Linked DNA regions of Homo sapiens: region 2 is linked to region 1. The links are contacts of gene promoters, found by promoter capture Hi-C in human tissues and cell types (Jung and others, 2019). All regions are on one chromosome and are shown on one strand. Each heading gives the region's core, a stretch centred on a gene start or on the middle of the fragment in contact. The rest is flanking DNA. Distances are from core to core; before and after follow the strand shown.

What was found. The method cuts DNA at HindIII sites, captures the fragments that hold promoters and counts their contacts. A contact is called where the count stands out against the background at its distance.
Region 2: a contact is called between a fragment that was not itself captured here and the fragment with the promoter of ERCC6 in region 1, in 1 of the 25 tissues and cell types used here (dorsolateral prefrontal cortex).

The regions. Positions count from the first base shown.
Region 1 is chr10:49,535,816-49,543,506 of GRCh38, forward strand. It overlaps ERCC6 (ERCC excision repair 6, chromatin remodeling factor), which reads right to left and starts at 3,306. Exons shown (of 21, transcript NM_000124.4): 1 at 3,147-3,306. RefSeq lists enhancers at 277-326, 357-416, 3,659-3,718, 3,749-3,988 and silencers at 1,815-2,003, 2,949-3,238. The HindIII fragment of the contact is 14,771 bases long and covers 1-6,563 here.
Region 2 is chr10:48,544,227-48,551,917 of GRCh38, forward strand. All of the region lies in intron 3 of ARHGAP22 (Rho GTPase activating protein 22), which reads right to left. Among named protein-coding and RNA genes, the nearest start is that of ARHGAP22-IT1, 36 kb to the left of the region's middle. The HindIII fragment of the contact is 3,725 bases long and covers 1,261-4,985 here.

The DNA of each region.
Region 1 (7,691 bases), core at 2,056-4,555:
CATTTACCTTGGTAAAAGAAGTTTCAGGCCAGGCTTGGTGGCTCACACCTGTAATCCCAGCACTTTGGGAGGCCAAGGCGGGTGGATCACCTGAGTTCGTGACCAGCCTGACCCAACATGGTGAAACCCCATCTCTACTAAAATACAAAAATTAGCCAGGCGTGGTGGTGCATGCCTGTAATCCCAGCTACTCGGGAGGCTGAGGCACGAGAATCGCTTGAACCCAGGAGGCAGAGGTTGCAGTGAGCTGAGATCACACCGCAGAACTCCAGCCTGGGCAACAAGAGTGAAACTCTGTCTCGAAAAAATAAAAAAGTTTCAGTGGAGCGATAGGGCCAAAAACCAGACTGTAGTGGTTGAAATGTAGTTGGTGTGTAAGGAGTGGATGAGGAAATGGAGGCCACAAGAGAGTGGCCTGTCCTTTAAAGAGCTTGCCTCTGGCAGGGAGACAGCTACAGTGATAAAGTAATAATGGATTTGTTGGGGGTAGGGAGAGAACTAGGGCAAGAAAAACTAGAGCACGTAATGGCTGGAGGGAGACAGAGGAGATAACCCAGAAAGGTGTACCAAAAGAGACAGCAAAAGTGGAAGGTCGCAAGCAGAAATGAACAGGAGGCACAACACATCTTTCTCGGACTCTGGCAGAAGGAGGATTCCTGATAGATCTAAATTTGCAGGTGGAAAGGAGGGAAGCTGAAGTGGATTACAGACAAAATATCCCACAAAGCAGCAAGTTGGGCAGTTCCTGAGTCAGGAGACAAAGTTGGCACTGGGGCTAAAGACTAAGAGTCTGGAATAAATGTCCTGTACAAGAGAAAAGGGAGTTGACAGGGAACAAACACTGATGATTGCTGTGGAGGACCTACCTGAGGATCTCCCCAGCCCTGCAAAGCCATAGACTGCTAACAATCTCCAGGGCTGAACAATCTCCTCCTTCAGTAGTCCTGGGGGAAATGTCACTATTGAGGGTTTTCAGAGCAGAAATGGTAGCGCAAAAGAGTCACGGGGTTGAAGATGCTGAGAAGAGTAGCTGAAGCAACTGACTTCAGGGTCCAAGCTGGGTAGGTTTAAAAAAACAAAAACAAACAAACAAAAAAACAGAAGGGGCCTGGAAATGGGAGAAAGGGTTCAAGAAGTCACTTAGTATCTGGCAATGGCCAGAAAACCAAGTCTTCTGGAAGTGAGAGTTGGAAACCAGAAGGCTCTTATCAGGTTAAAGAATTTCAGAAGTGAAATAAATCATACATTTGCCGGGAGCGGTGGCTCATGCCTGTAATCCCAGCACTTTGGGAGGCCGAGGCGGGAGGATCACGAGGTCAGAAGTTCGAGACCAGCCTGACCAACATAGTGAAACCCCGTCTCTACTAAAAATGCAAAAATTAGCTGGGCATGGAGGCGCGCGCCTGTAATCCCAGCTACTCGAGAGGCTGGGGCAGGAGAATCGCTTGAACCCAGGAGGCGGAGGCCGCAGTGAGCGAGATCGCACCACTGCACTCCAGCCTGGGCGACAGGGCAAGACTCCGTCTCAAAAAAAAAAAAAAAAAGAAAGAAAGAAATCATACATTTAACAAATAGTTACTGAGAGTTAATTACACCAGGCAATGTACTAGGTTAACTAATTCCTGTCCCCAAAGAGCTTAGAGTCTCATGGGAAAAACAGACATTTAAAAACTATATATATATATATACACATACACACACACACACACACACACACACAAATATAATTGTGGTGACTGCTGTTAAGAGGAAAGTACAAGGCTTTCTGACAAAATGAGAGAAACCAAATTGAAATTGTGGAGGTAGATGTGGGGTCAAGGAGGCCTCTCTGATAAAGTGACATCTGATAAGTCAGTCAGGTCGAAAGTAAAGTGAACGTCTTGCAAGGAAACAACGTGTGAAATTTTTTTTTTTTTTGAGACGGAATTTCGCTCCGGTTGCCCAGGCTGGAGTGCAACCTCCGCCAGGCTCCGCCAGGCTCACTGCAACCTCCGCCTTCCGGGTTCAAGCGATTCTCCTGCCTTGGCCTCCCGATTAGCTGGGATTACAGGCATATGCCATCATGCCCGGCTAATTTTTCGTATTTAGTAAAGACAGGGTTTCACCACGTTGGTAAGGCTGGTCTCGAACTCCTGACCTCGGGTGATCCACCCACCTCGGCCTCCCAACAACGTGCGTAACTTTTAAGACTAGAAAGAGCTGATGCACTTGTGAAAATGCAAGAAGGCTGGAACACCGAATTTTTGACTTTATTTTTAACTTTGAGTTAAGAAGAGCAGAGAAGGGCTCCGTTCATGGCCTAAGTCTTGCAGAGTATCTTCTAAGGCTTAATCATCTGGGACACTAGTATCTTCACCGTCCTCCCCCATCACTGGGGCTCCCGCAGCCAGGGGCAAGCTGGGTCTCATTTGGAGGGTTGGTCGGACACAGGCACAGTTCTGAGAGGGGACAGGCAAGGGCCAAATCACACAAGGCCTGGGAAAACACGAGCATGGATTCCACTCCCAGTGCAATGGAATGACTCTGAAAACTGTTAAGTAGGCTGATGATGGCATGACCTACTTTATGCCAGAGACCACCTGGACAACTGTGCGGATAATGGATTGGAGGAGACAAAGCAACAAGAAGATGATGGGAAAAGTTGAGGAGAAAAGCGAGGGCTGCCTGTCACAGGATGACAGCAGTTAAGACGCTGCGTGGAAGTCACGTAACAGCAGCATTTACAGGCGGCCTGCCTCATCCGCCCACACTCTTATCAATTTGACTCTATCAACGCCCAAAACGTCGGACGTACATCTAGCCCGACTCTCTTTAAAATAACAGCTCCAGCATTTTAATCGAGATCAAAAAGGACCCAGCTGACCCTGCGCGCAGGGGGCCTTATACAAAGTCGGAGAAGTAGCTGGGTCGCTGGCCGGCCAGGGACTCAAGCCGCCTCAGGTGAGCGCTCCTTGGCGCTACTTCCGGTCTCAGGTGAGGCCGCCGGAAGCGGGCACTTGGCCCTAAGACCCGCTACAGTGCGTCCTCGCTGACAGGCTCAATCACCACGGCGAGGCCAAGGCGCGGGGCCGCGGCCCGCCCGAGAAGCCTGAGCTGGGCCCCGACACCCCCTGCCCGACATTCGGCCGGGACCCCCGAACACTCACCCAGGGCCGCGCGAGCGCCCACAAGGAAACAGAGACGCTACCGCCGCCAGCCGCCTTGGAACCCAGCTCGACGGGCCGTGGCGCCTGCGCCCTCAGCTCAACCATAGACACCGCCCCCAACAGCGACTCCGACTTCTGCTGGTGCGGGGAGGCCCGTGGCGCATGCGCCTGGCTCAGCGTTTGTTTTTAAGCACGGGCAAGACCACGTGGTTTGGAGGGACGGGCTCAGCAGCGCCTTTCTACTTGCGTGCGAGCAGGGCGAGAAAGCTGTCTCCGCTGCCGGTCAGCTGGGTGGCTTGCGAAGGACGCTTCGCCCCTAGCGAAAAATACCCTGCTGGCAAGGCAGTTATGAAAGTTAAGACATATTTCCACGTAGAGGGGGATGCGGGTGTGCCATGCGAATGTAAATCCTCACAATTAACCTTGAACCCTGCAGAGAAAGTCAGCTTGGGCAGGGAAGTTAGCCGCACTTTTTGGTCGCCAGGCTGTGACCTCTCTTGTTGTCTCCCACGACTGAACACGGGAAGGATGGAGAGCTGTCCTGCTTCTCTGTTCCCCCTCCGCCACGCGCGCACCTGGGCGGAGTGAGTGCCTACAGAGCCTGCTTACATGTGTACATTGCCTTAAGTCCAGCGTTTAGTATCCGTCCTCAGATCTCAGAGGTAGGCGGGGTTTCGAGGCAGGCGAGAATTTTACCGTGGTGCGTTTGAAGAAAGAAGATGTCCACACAGAGGTTCAGAACAATGGGAGGAAGTTGAGCTTCGCCTGGGGAAAGAAGCAGCCCACGATGCAGGATGGCTGTACCAGACAGAGCTTCTCAGCTCAGGATCGGTGCTAGGAGAAGGTGGACTTTCCAGGGCCGCGAGGCAGGACGTCCTCTGGGAGGGCAGTGACTGCGGGTCACTGCCTGGGAAGTGCTGTCCTCACTTGGAAGCCTGAAGTCGGACAATAGGGAAATGGGGTCGGAAAGGGGACTAGGAAATGCTCCATAACATCATCTTATTCCTCCTGTCAGCGGCCCCAACCCACAATGTAACTTGTTTTTGTTGGTGGTAGTGGGTTTTTTTGTTTGTTTTGTTTTTGTTTTTGTTTTTGAGACGGAGTTTTGCTCTTGTCGCCCAGGATGGAGTACAATGGCACGATGTGGGCTCACTGCAACCTCCTCCTCCCAGGTTCAAGCGATTCTCCTGCCTCAGCCTGCCGGGTAGCTGGGATTACAGGCGCCTGCCACCATGCCCAGCTAATTTTTGTGTTTTTAGTAGAGACGGGGTTTCGTCATGTTAGCCAAGCTGTCCGCGAACTCCTGACCTCAGGTGATCCACCCGCCTCGGCCTCCTAGAGTTCTGGGATTACAGGTGTGAGCCACCACGCCCGGCTTGTAACTTGCTTTTTTTTTTTTTTAAAGGAGAAAGAATTCTAGCGATTTCTTGGATAAAATATTAAGAATAGAAAGGCAGTTGATTGACATTAGTTTCAATGCTTGAAAGTAAAAGCAGATATATAGTGGATCCCAACTTTTGAGACTGAGGTTCCCTTTGCAGCTATTTTGGAGACCCTTCCTATATCAGAATTTGGACAGGAAAAAATGGTCCACTCAAAAGGGGAAGTTGAGAGTTATTATTTACAAAGACGTGGGCGGGGTTCAGGAAAACAACTCAGGGTGGCACAACTGGAGCTATTAAGGGCCGAATTGTGTCCCCTCCCCAAAATTCATATGCTGGAGTCCTAACCGCCACTCCCCACCCCCACCCCGGGACCTCAGAATGTGACTGTATTTGAAGATAGGGTCTTTAATGAGGGAATTTAGTTAAATGAGGTCCCAAGTTATTTAGCAAGTCGTCCAAGCCCTTTTATACTCCTGCCCCATCTAATTTTTCTGCATCACTTGTGTCCTTCACTCCCTGGATGCCTATGCTCAGGATTTAGGGAACTACTTACTCTTCTCCCAGGAAGGGTGTGCTACAATTGGCTTCTACGGCCTAGCAAGCATACTGTTCACCTCTTCCCAGCTGCCTTAGCTCAGGCTGCCATAACAAATGCCATAGACTGGGCAGCTTAAACAACAGGCATTTGTTTCTCATAGTTCTGGAGGCTGGGAAGTCCAAGATCAAATGCAGGCAGATTTAGCTCATTTAGGGGAAGCTCTCCTCATGGCTTGCAAATGGTTACCTTCTCACTGTGTCCTTACATGGGGTAGAGAGAGGGCTCTGTCTTCCCTTTCTTCTAAGGCATCAGCCGTATTGGATTAGGGACTCACCCTTATGATCTCATTTAACCAGATTTGCTGCCTAAAGACCCTGTCTCCAAATAGTCACATTGAGGGTTAGGGATTCAGCATATGAATTTGGGGGGCACCCAGTTTAGCCCATAGCACCAACTCTGCCTTTGTTGACTTCACATTAATAGCTTGAAATCAGCCATAGTAGGAGTATTTATACCACAGAAATGGACAAACTATAAACTGGAACTTTGGGGGAGAGGCAATTATTAATCTTTTCCCACATACCCCTACTTGTTATTCTGTCACTTCTGTGATCTTACAAGCAGGTCCCTCTGCTTAGAATTCTCTTACCCATTCCAAACTCAGACAAAGTTTCTCTTTTCTGAAGCTTTCCCCTACCCTCTGACAGCAATAGGCTCTTGCATCTCCTGTGTACCCCCAAACCAATATTTCTAATGTCATTATTATAGTAGTTATTGATTTGGATTTTAATCCATTTTCCCTACCATTTCCTAGCCCTTACTCTAAGCTGGGCATTATTTTAAACACCCCACCCAAGGGGTTCTTCCTGCCCACTGCATAAAGAAAGACCATAGCATTGTGGTAGAAAAAGAGCTTAATAGACACGAGGCCGACCATGCCAGGTGGGAGATGGAGTGCATGCTCAGGTCATCTGATCCAAAGTCCGAAGCTCATAGGCTGGGGGTTTTTCAAACGCAGTTTGGAGGAAGGGGTGGGAGTGGCCAGGTAACAGGTGCTTGCTGCTGATTGGTTGAGGCTGAGATGAAATCATAGGGGGAGTCAAAGCTGTCCTCCTGCAGTCTGAATCACTTCTGGGTGGGGCTGTGGGAGTGGGGTTGGCGGTCCAGGTGGAGCCATGGGTGTCAGACATGCAAAAAACCTGGAAAGATATCTCAAAAAGCTACAAATAGTGGTTGTATTAGTCTGCTCTCGTGCTGCTAATAAAGACATACCCAAGACTGGGTAATTTATAAAGGAAAGAGGTTTAATTGACTCACAGTTAAGCATGGCTGGGGAGGCCTCTGGAAACTTACAATCATGGTGACAGGGGGAGCAAACATGTCCTACTTCACATGGTGGCAGCAAGGAGAAGTGCAGAGTGAAGGAGGGGGAAAGCCCCTTATAAAACCATCAGATCTCGTGAGAACTCACTATCAGAACAGCATGGAGGTAACCACCCTCACGATTCAGTTATCTCCCACCGGCTTCCTCCCACAACATGTAGGGATTATGGAAACTACAATTCAGGATGAGATTTGGGTGGGGACACAGCCAAACCATATCAGTGGTGTTATTTGCAGGAGTAATTGGGAAAGTTGAGTATCTTATAACCTCCAGAATAATGACTGACAATCGTTCATATCTGCGCCTTAGCAGGACTCAGGCTCCTCTCCTCCCCCACAGCCTGATAGCTTCCCATTAGCTTTACAAAAACAGTTGAGTTTCAGGCAAGGTCTGTTATCATGTAAACTATAGCCTAAATGTCTCTCAAAGTTAGCTGGCCCCAGTAGCTTAGAAATAATTAAGGGAAAGGCAAGATAGGTGTTGGAATGGGGGCGTTAACTCAGACCTCTTTCACTGTCATAATTTTCTAACTGATATAATTTTTGCAAAGGTGGTTTCATTGTCTTGAGTGCTTTACTAATGTTAACTTGTTTAACTATGACGATATTCATCCTTGCGCCTTTATTTCACATTTCGTGTTCAATATAAGGAATTCTCCCAATGACCTACAGAACAGAGGTCTGAGTTGACTCTCACTTTTCAAAACTTCTGGGTAACGGCAGTGCAACAAAACCGGTTTGGTTCTCTGATCCTTATAAATGGGGAAAACTCATGAAAAATAATTAGATGTATTGGAAACACAATAAATACTTTGTAAAAATTATAAATCAAAAAAGAAGCAAAAGCATATTATTTAGAACTGTGTTGGCAACCACTAGAAAAACATGTTAAATGTATGTTGAATAAATGAATCAGCAAGCTTAAAAGCAATGAATGTATAAAACCATCCATTGTGAACTGTTACCAGGAAGGATTCCCGATCCAGATGCCGAGAGAGTTCTTAGACCTTGAGTAAGAAAGAATTCGGGGCAAGTCCATAGAGTAAAGTGAAAGCAAGTTTATTAGGAGAGTAAAGGAATAAAGAATGGCTACTCCATAGGCAGAACAGCAACTTGGGCTGCTTGATGAGAATACTTATAGTTATTTCTTGATTATATGCTAAAGAAGGGGTAGATTATTCCTGAGTTTTCTAGGAAAGGGGTGGGTAATTCCCAGAACTGAGGGTTCTTCCCATTTTT
Region 2 (7,691 bases), core at 1,873-4,372, 990 kb before region 1:
TTTCCCTTCTACGATCAGATGATGAAAATGAAGCCCATGGGATTTAAGTTATTGGTCCAGGTTCTTTTATTGAGCAAATGGCAGAGCTCAAATGTGAATCTAGCTCTGTCTTACTCCAAGTCTGAGGCTCCCACCCCCTCCCCATCCCTGCCGTTCTTTCTTTGTTCATCCTTCCTTCTTTCTCTTTCTCCCCTTGCTTCTTTCATTTTTGCCTGTAGAGCACCTGTTCTATGCTGGTGTTCTCATCTAGGCCTGTGCTGTCCAATACGGTGCCACCACACATGTGGGTCCTGAGCATGTGAATGAAGCAGGTGTGCCTGAGCAATGGAATTGTCAATTTAATTTAATTTACATTAGTTTAAAAACTGACATTCAGTTCCATTGCTGAAAAACATTTAAGTATGTTTGGAATAACTTGGGTATGTGACTCTACTTTTCAATCATACATTTTATGAAATCTAAATGCCGATCAAAGATGGCTATAGTTAATTAATATATTACATAATTTCAAATAGGAGGACAGTGAATGCTCGCAACACAAATAAATGGTAAATGCTTGAGATGGTGGATATGCTAATCACCCTAATCTGATCACTGTACAATATATGTATCAAAACATCACTATGTACCCCATGAATATGTACAATTATTATGTGTCAATTTAAAAAATTAAAAAATTAGAATAAGTAAATATATATCAAGTACTTCCAGTGAAAATTTAGTGTCTGCATGGAAATGTGCTTTAAGTGTAAATACCAATTTAGACTTGGAAGCAAAAAAGAATGTGGAATATTTCACTAATGTTTATTTTGATTACATATTGAAATGATAGTATTTTGGAGCCAGTAGTTTAAATAAAAATACATTATTAAGAACAATTTCACTAGCTTTCTTTCCTTTTAGTTTTAAAAAAATTTTAAATTTTTAGTCCTTGTGAGTGTGTAGTAGGTGTATATATTTATGCAGATATTTTCACATGTGTACTCACTAGAAAATTTACAACCACAAACATGGCTTGCATTACATCTCTATAGAAGAGCGCTGCTCTAGGACACGATTTTGGCCAAAGGAATGATCCTGCTCAAGGGGACTCTTTCCAGGGAGCCTGCAGGAGTTTCCCACACCTGGTCCTGTGCTGAGCTGAGAGAAGTGAGGCTAAGACAGGAGAACCCCACTGCAAAGCCAGGAAGTGTAAGAGCCACTCCCATCTCAGGGGTGGGGATCACTGGCAAACTTCTCATCTAATTTCATTTCTGTCATTACCCATCATCTGGCGCTCTGCAGACAACCTCAGCAGGGGCTGCACGAGGTCAGGCCAAGACTCAGGCTGGCTGGTACCAGGTGCCGAGATAGGCCGGTATCAGCATCCTCCCCACTCAGGCGGCGGCTAATGTGATCAGGGATGCTCTGGGCATGTCAGACACACAGTATCTGTCTCCTCTGCGGAGTAATCTGTGCACACTGGCTCTCCTTCAAGGTCAGGCCTCCCTTTAAGACAGCAGGCAGCAGTCTCCTATCTGCTCCAAGGGCAGGCTGGATAAGGCCAGGCAGCTACAAGCTCCATGCCTGAGGGCGACTTCAATGACCTTGTGTAGCCATAAGACGGGCAGGAACTGGCTCCCTCTGGACAAACTTGGCTATAGAATGCCAGCTGGTGCCATTCTACTCGTTCAAGCAGACACGTCGGAGGTCACTGGGCCAGCCCTCTCGTCTTACACAGGGGGAAACTGAGATTCAGAGAAGGGAAGAAATCTAATCTGGTTGCCCTTGAGAGCTAGGGTCTGAGCTGAGTCTGGAAGCCACTTAAACAGGCCCCCAAGGCAGAGATGTTGTTAGTGATCAGGACTCCCTGGCTTGATCCTGGAGAACTTGACACATAAACTTGTAAATGCACGAAAGACTCAGGGCTCTGCTTTAAGCAGCCTGGCTTCTGCGCTGCCTCCCACAGGGGTCCCCGCTACTCCTGTGGCAGTGTGGTCTTTTCTGTCGACATTGCCAGGGTAGGGGTGGGGGCACAGAATAGACATTGGTGGAGATGAGCATCAGACATTACAGTTCTTGTAAGCCCCTCAGTTGGTCTACCCTGAGTGATCTTTCTAACACATAGTTTTTGTTTTATTTTTAAGGATTCAAATGTACTTTACTTTTTCCATAATGCCATATTTTAATGGGCACATGGAGCTTTTACTTGGCATCAATTATGATTTGTGTTTTAAACAATTCAGTATGACACCAGCTGGGATGATTACTGATCTCTCCATTCCGTTAGGGGTGACCCTGGCAACAGGGCACAGATTCCATCCAATTCCAATTGGTGTTGCAACATAGGTCCATACGGGCAGTAGAGAAAGAGGCTCCGCTAGCTAACATGGCATTACCATACCTGTCATGAAAATCATGTGTACATTTCTGGTGGCTCTGCCTTTCCATTGTTTGCTGAATGCTTTGAACTCTGAGGTTACTTACTGTGCCGTTGGCCAAGGGAAATCCTGAAGCTAAAGATAAAAGTGTCTCAGTCAGGGACACCTCTATCAGAGCACTCATCACACAGCATTGTGATGGGATTGGGTTGCTGTTATTAATCATAACGATTAATGATTAGAGAGCATGCAGGGAGGAGGGGAGCTTATCTAGACCAGGTACCTACTATGAGCCAGGATCTGGGTTCTCAGTGAATCCTCACCACAACCCAAGGTGCTTGGCAATATTCTCACCCCCAGTTTATGGGACATTGAGGCACGGAGCCCTCTGTGACTTGTCAAAACCCACACAGTCCCTGAGTAGCATGGCTATGCTCACATCCAGCTCTCCCTGACTCTGGCCTGGAGAGATGGGTGGTCTGGAACAGCACTGACTAGATGCTGTGAGGCCCTTGATGTCTGTTGAGAGTGTGTGGAAAATGGGCACAAACAGGAAGATGGCTCCCAGGCTTGCCTCCCCAGCTCTTCCTCGGAAGCTTCCTTTCTACATGCAGACACCAGCTTGCCTAGGCAACATCTGCATCCGCGTGTGGTGTGTCTGGCGACAATCAACCCCATGGCCCTGATTCCCATGGGACACAATGCTAGCTTTGCTACTACCATGGTCTCTGAAGACTGGTTGGAGCTGAAAACCCAAGACCTCAAAGCCATCCCTGTCCAGGCCTCCTATTGCCTGCAGGATTCCCATCTGGTGTTTGGGGAGTTGGGGGGGAGGCCCCAAGGAGCCCAGTGGGAGGGAAGGAGCATGGACCTCTGTGGGAGAGCAGAGAGCTTGCCAGGCCTCTGAATGGTACAGCTGGCCCCCGAGTCTCCTGACCCTGATCTTGAGAAATATGGGGCTCCCAGCCCAAAGCAGACAGGTGCTCCAGGATGGGGACTAGACCCAGGCCTCAGAGCAGCTGTGGTACCCTTCACCTCCTTCTGCACCAGAAAACAGAGCACTCTCCTCCTCCTCCTTTTCCTCAGATCCAGGGTGGCCATTCACGTCTTCCTCGGGCTAATCCTCAGCACTGCACACTCAGGTCCTTCCCCACAAGTAGGAATTGCTCCTGAGTGTGGGGGGCCATCGGCTCGGTGCAATGTTGTTGAAAAGGCATCCCGTCCTGGCCCCTTGTCTGGCACTTGGAAAGGGCAAGGCCAATGATGTGACACTCAGCCCTGCAGAAATACAGTCATGGACCATCTGGAGCAGTGAACATTTGACAGAGACTGGCTGTTTGTCTTCTACTCTCCCCTCTGGAAGGCACCCAAGTTCCTTTGGAGTCTCCTTGCCCCCACTAGGCGAAGTCTTGGGAGGGCTGGTCCAGATGCCAGAGTGGATAGGCCCTTCCTCACCACCCCAGTGTAGTCAGGGGTAGGCATGTAGCTTAAGCACAGATACTGAGACTTTGGGCTTTCGGCAAGTGAGCCATGCCGGGATTGCAGAGCCAGGCGAGATTCAACCTTCCCAGCACAGAGTACCACCCGCTCGCCCCTCCCAGCTCCTGGCCCCGTGACAGCCCAGCCGCTTGCCCCTTCCACAAGTGTCACTCCCATCACATCCTACCCCCTGGTTTCTGGTGAATTTCCCCTTTGCTAGAGTTAGCCAGAGCTGGCTTCTGCAACCTGCTCCAACCAGGACTCTTAATCTCCACTCCCCCGGCCCCACCCCATTTACGGTTACTCACTAGAAAGACTTATGGTTCTGGTCTCAAGCCTGCAGCCAACCCACTTGGTTCCCTTTGATAGCACCAACCCACTTGGTTCCCTTCAATAGCATTGTGCTAATTCCAGAAGACGGATTTTAGCAATGAGTTACAAAGCTTAACGGATGACCTAATTCATCTCACCAAACATGGCCGTTTTTTGGGGACAGGCCTGCTCTGGGATCTTAGCAACTCTTTTTGCCCAGAGTGCCAAAGCAGGCCTCTCCACTCCCCACCCGCTCCTTGTGGATTTAAAGGGAGGCCTAAACTTGGCCTGGGGCTGGATGCCCACATCAGCAAAAAGCCCAGGTCTGAGAGGCCCCCAGGATCAAGTCTGCAAGGAGCAGACAGCTTTCAAAGGGCTGGGAGGGGCAGGGTTTGCCAGGCAGCTGCCCTGGCAAGACAGAAGTACCAGGTGGGCAGGACCTGGGGGTCCTTGAGTCTCAGTCCCTTTGTGGGGCCTGGCTCCTTCATGCCTGCCCCGGGGGAGCTAGCCTCAGCAGGCTGAGGAAGAGCAGGGCTCTGGGGTTAGAGCTGGCTCAAGCTGCAGTTCCACCGCTCACCGGCCCTCGGATCCCAGCAAGTTACTTAGCTTGTCAGAGTCCCAGGGGCCTTGCCTGTTAGATGGGTTAGTAGAGGTTAGTCCCAGGAGTGTGGTGAGGATAAACGTGGTGTGCTCAGCTTCATTCCTTAGAAGGAACTCAGTGAATGTTTAGCCCACTAGCACTCATACACACCTTGGTCTACAACCTCAGGCACTCAACAAATATGATATTTGTTAGAAAGAATCATGTTAATTCTATCTCCAAGCCCTATGTTCCCAGGCTGGAAGGGAGCTGAGTCCCAGCTACTATTGAGATGGAGGGAAGGGGTCCTCTTTGCTGTGGTCAGGCTTACATGGGGCCTGGCAATGGGATGGGCTGTTCTTGGTCCCTCCTGGTCACCTGATGTCTTTACCTGCAGTCACTTGGGGCTGGAAGCTAGGTAGCTCTCCTGCCTTTCTTGACCATGGTGTGTCTGTCTGAGGCGGGACCCTGGTGTCTGGAGCCTGCTTTCCTGGTGGCACCATGCCTATCACCTTCCTGGGGCATTGCTGGGGGCAGGGTGACCAGTCTAGGGGAACGCCTCTTTCCCGACCCTGTCCACATCAATTATCTGGGGTGGGAGAGCAGGAGATTTCTGCTTTCTGCTGCAGAGACCTCACCTTCCCCTGAGGCAAGTGGCCTAGGGATTAAAAAGGGCCAGGAGATCAAAGCACAAACCAGCATCTTATACATTATACGGTCCTCCTCCTCTTGGAATAATAATTATTAGAATTAAAACATTGGTTATAGCTTTGCCTGCCCCCAATTAACTCAAACCTCCTCTCACTCAGTCCGCTTGTGAGGCCCATCTCATTCACCCTTCCAGGATTCTAAGTCCCCCACTATCTCTACACCAGGGGCAGCCTCTCCACCTTGGACCCTGAGCCCACTCAGCAGTGTTTTTTGCAAGCCCTCCAGATGAGGCGGAGGCTCACTAAAGCTTGAGAACCACTGCCCGACACCATTCTCCTGCCACAGAGGACAACTTTTCATTCTGGCAGAAAGCTTAACCTCCTGTTGCTTCCAATCCTTACATTAAATTCAGTTACCTATGTGCTGAGCGCCTTGGAACTAAGGTGTGAAGGAGACACACAGACCCCGTGCCCACTGTGCTTGCCCATTGCTGCTTCTGCCCAGCTGCTCTCCCTGATTCTTCACCTGGCTGACTCTCACTTAACCTTCAAAGAGCAGGGTCGTTGTCACTTTATCCTGGAAGTCCCATGCACTCCCTGCGTGCATTAGGGTCCCCTCCTCCAGGCTCACACAATTGCCTTTTTACTCTCCTCCTAGCCTTTCTCATCCTGTGAGTCAATGTCTGCCTTCCTGCCTGCTTCCTGAACTTGTTAATTCTGTGAGGGTAGGAAGGTGTCTTTCTTACTCCAAGGTAACAGATCATTATACAGAATGGCAGGACTACTGACTGTTCACCAAACCAGCCTTGCCTTCCTCCTGGAAAGAGGTGGACTCCATTTCCCAGACTCTCTTGCTCCGAGGTGTAGCCATGCAACTGCATTCTGGCCAATGGGCTGTGACGGGATGATGGGGCCACTTCCAGGCCTGGACCAACACATCTCCCAGGCATGATGGCCTCCTAGCATGGAAACAACTAGGATACTTTTGCAAGCCACAGGTTTCAGATGGCGAAACCATGAAATAGGAAGATGCTGGGAGATCAACTGCCTGCCAATCACAAGTGTTCATTTTTGACTTTATATGAAAGACAAATACATTCTTGTGTCAAGATCCTGAGATTTGGGGGTTATTCCAGCAGTTCACTTACCCTAATACAAAAAAGCTAAGCTCACTGGAGAATAAACATGAAATGGTTTTACTTTCCCAATAACTATGCCTATCACTTCCTACCTTCCCTTTGAGTCGTTGCTCACTTGGTGATTTTCCCAGGGTCCAGAGTGTGTGCCACTCTTAGTTATTCTAACAGTCTCATTAAGGATCTCTCCAATCCTTAATTCTGTTCCCTCACATCTGGTTCAAAGCTCTTTTTGTGCTGCTCCCCCAGCACTGTGGCCCTCACGGACTGGGGTGTGCTGGCATAGATAGGGGTTGCTTCTCCTAGACTCTTCCCTGAACTGCACCCTGGGCACTGGGGTGGGAAGGAGGCAGAGGGGAAATGTAGACCTTTCTTTGCTTGCCAGGCAAGGTTGCAGTTCCCTCCCTGGTGGACGGTGTTGTGAACTGGGGCAGGGGCACCCTCCCAACCAGCTCCTCTGGGCACTGGGGATCTGTTGTGCGTTCTGACCTCAAATCTCAGCTGACTTCCTGCAGGTGGCATCTTGCCTGTCTGCCCTGCACTATGAGAATTCTAGAAAGTCTGAGGGCCCATGTCATCCTCTTTTCTCCATCAGTGCCCAGGCCTGTGGTCCCACAGAGGCTTCACATTCTGCTCCTCTTGAGAACTGGATGCTTACGGCAGGAGGTGTGCCTGGCAGAACCCCATTTGCCATCAGTCCTCAGTCAGATTTTCCTTGCCTGGGTAACCATGAAAAGCAAATCTTGTGTGTAAGCAACTGTCCAAGCAAGACACAAATGCCAGTCACCCTTTCTCTCAGCCTCCCTTAAACTTTATAAGTGGTTTTCCTGCGTGTCCCCGCAGCTTCAGGGAGGAGACCGTCACCTCTGCCCAAAGCAATTGCTCCCACCTCTCAGTACGCTTTATATACTGACCATGTCGGGAAAGCAGTGGCAGGCCACAGCCACAAGAGGACAGAAGTCCCACTGGCACTAAAGCCCCCTTATAAGAGTGTTTTCTCTGTGTCTTGCTCAGTGGCTGGATGTGCAGGTTCTCAGGTGCTTTTGGAACCAGAGGTGTATGCTGTATCAAGTTCCAAGACCTCCCAGCCCAGATGGGAACAATGCTAGAATCTGTAGGAGGCCCCATATGGCCAGATGTCTGTGTTGGAGGGCAATTTTAGTGTGTGGCTTTG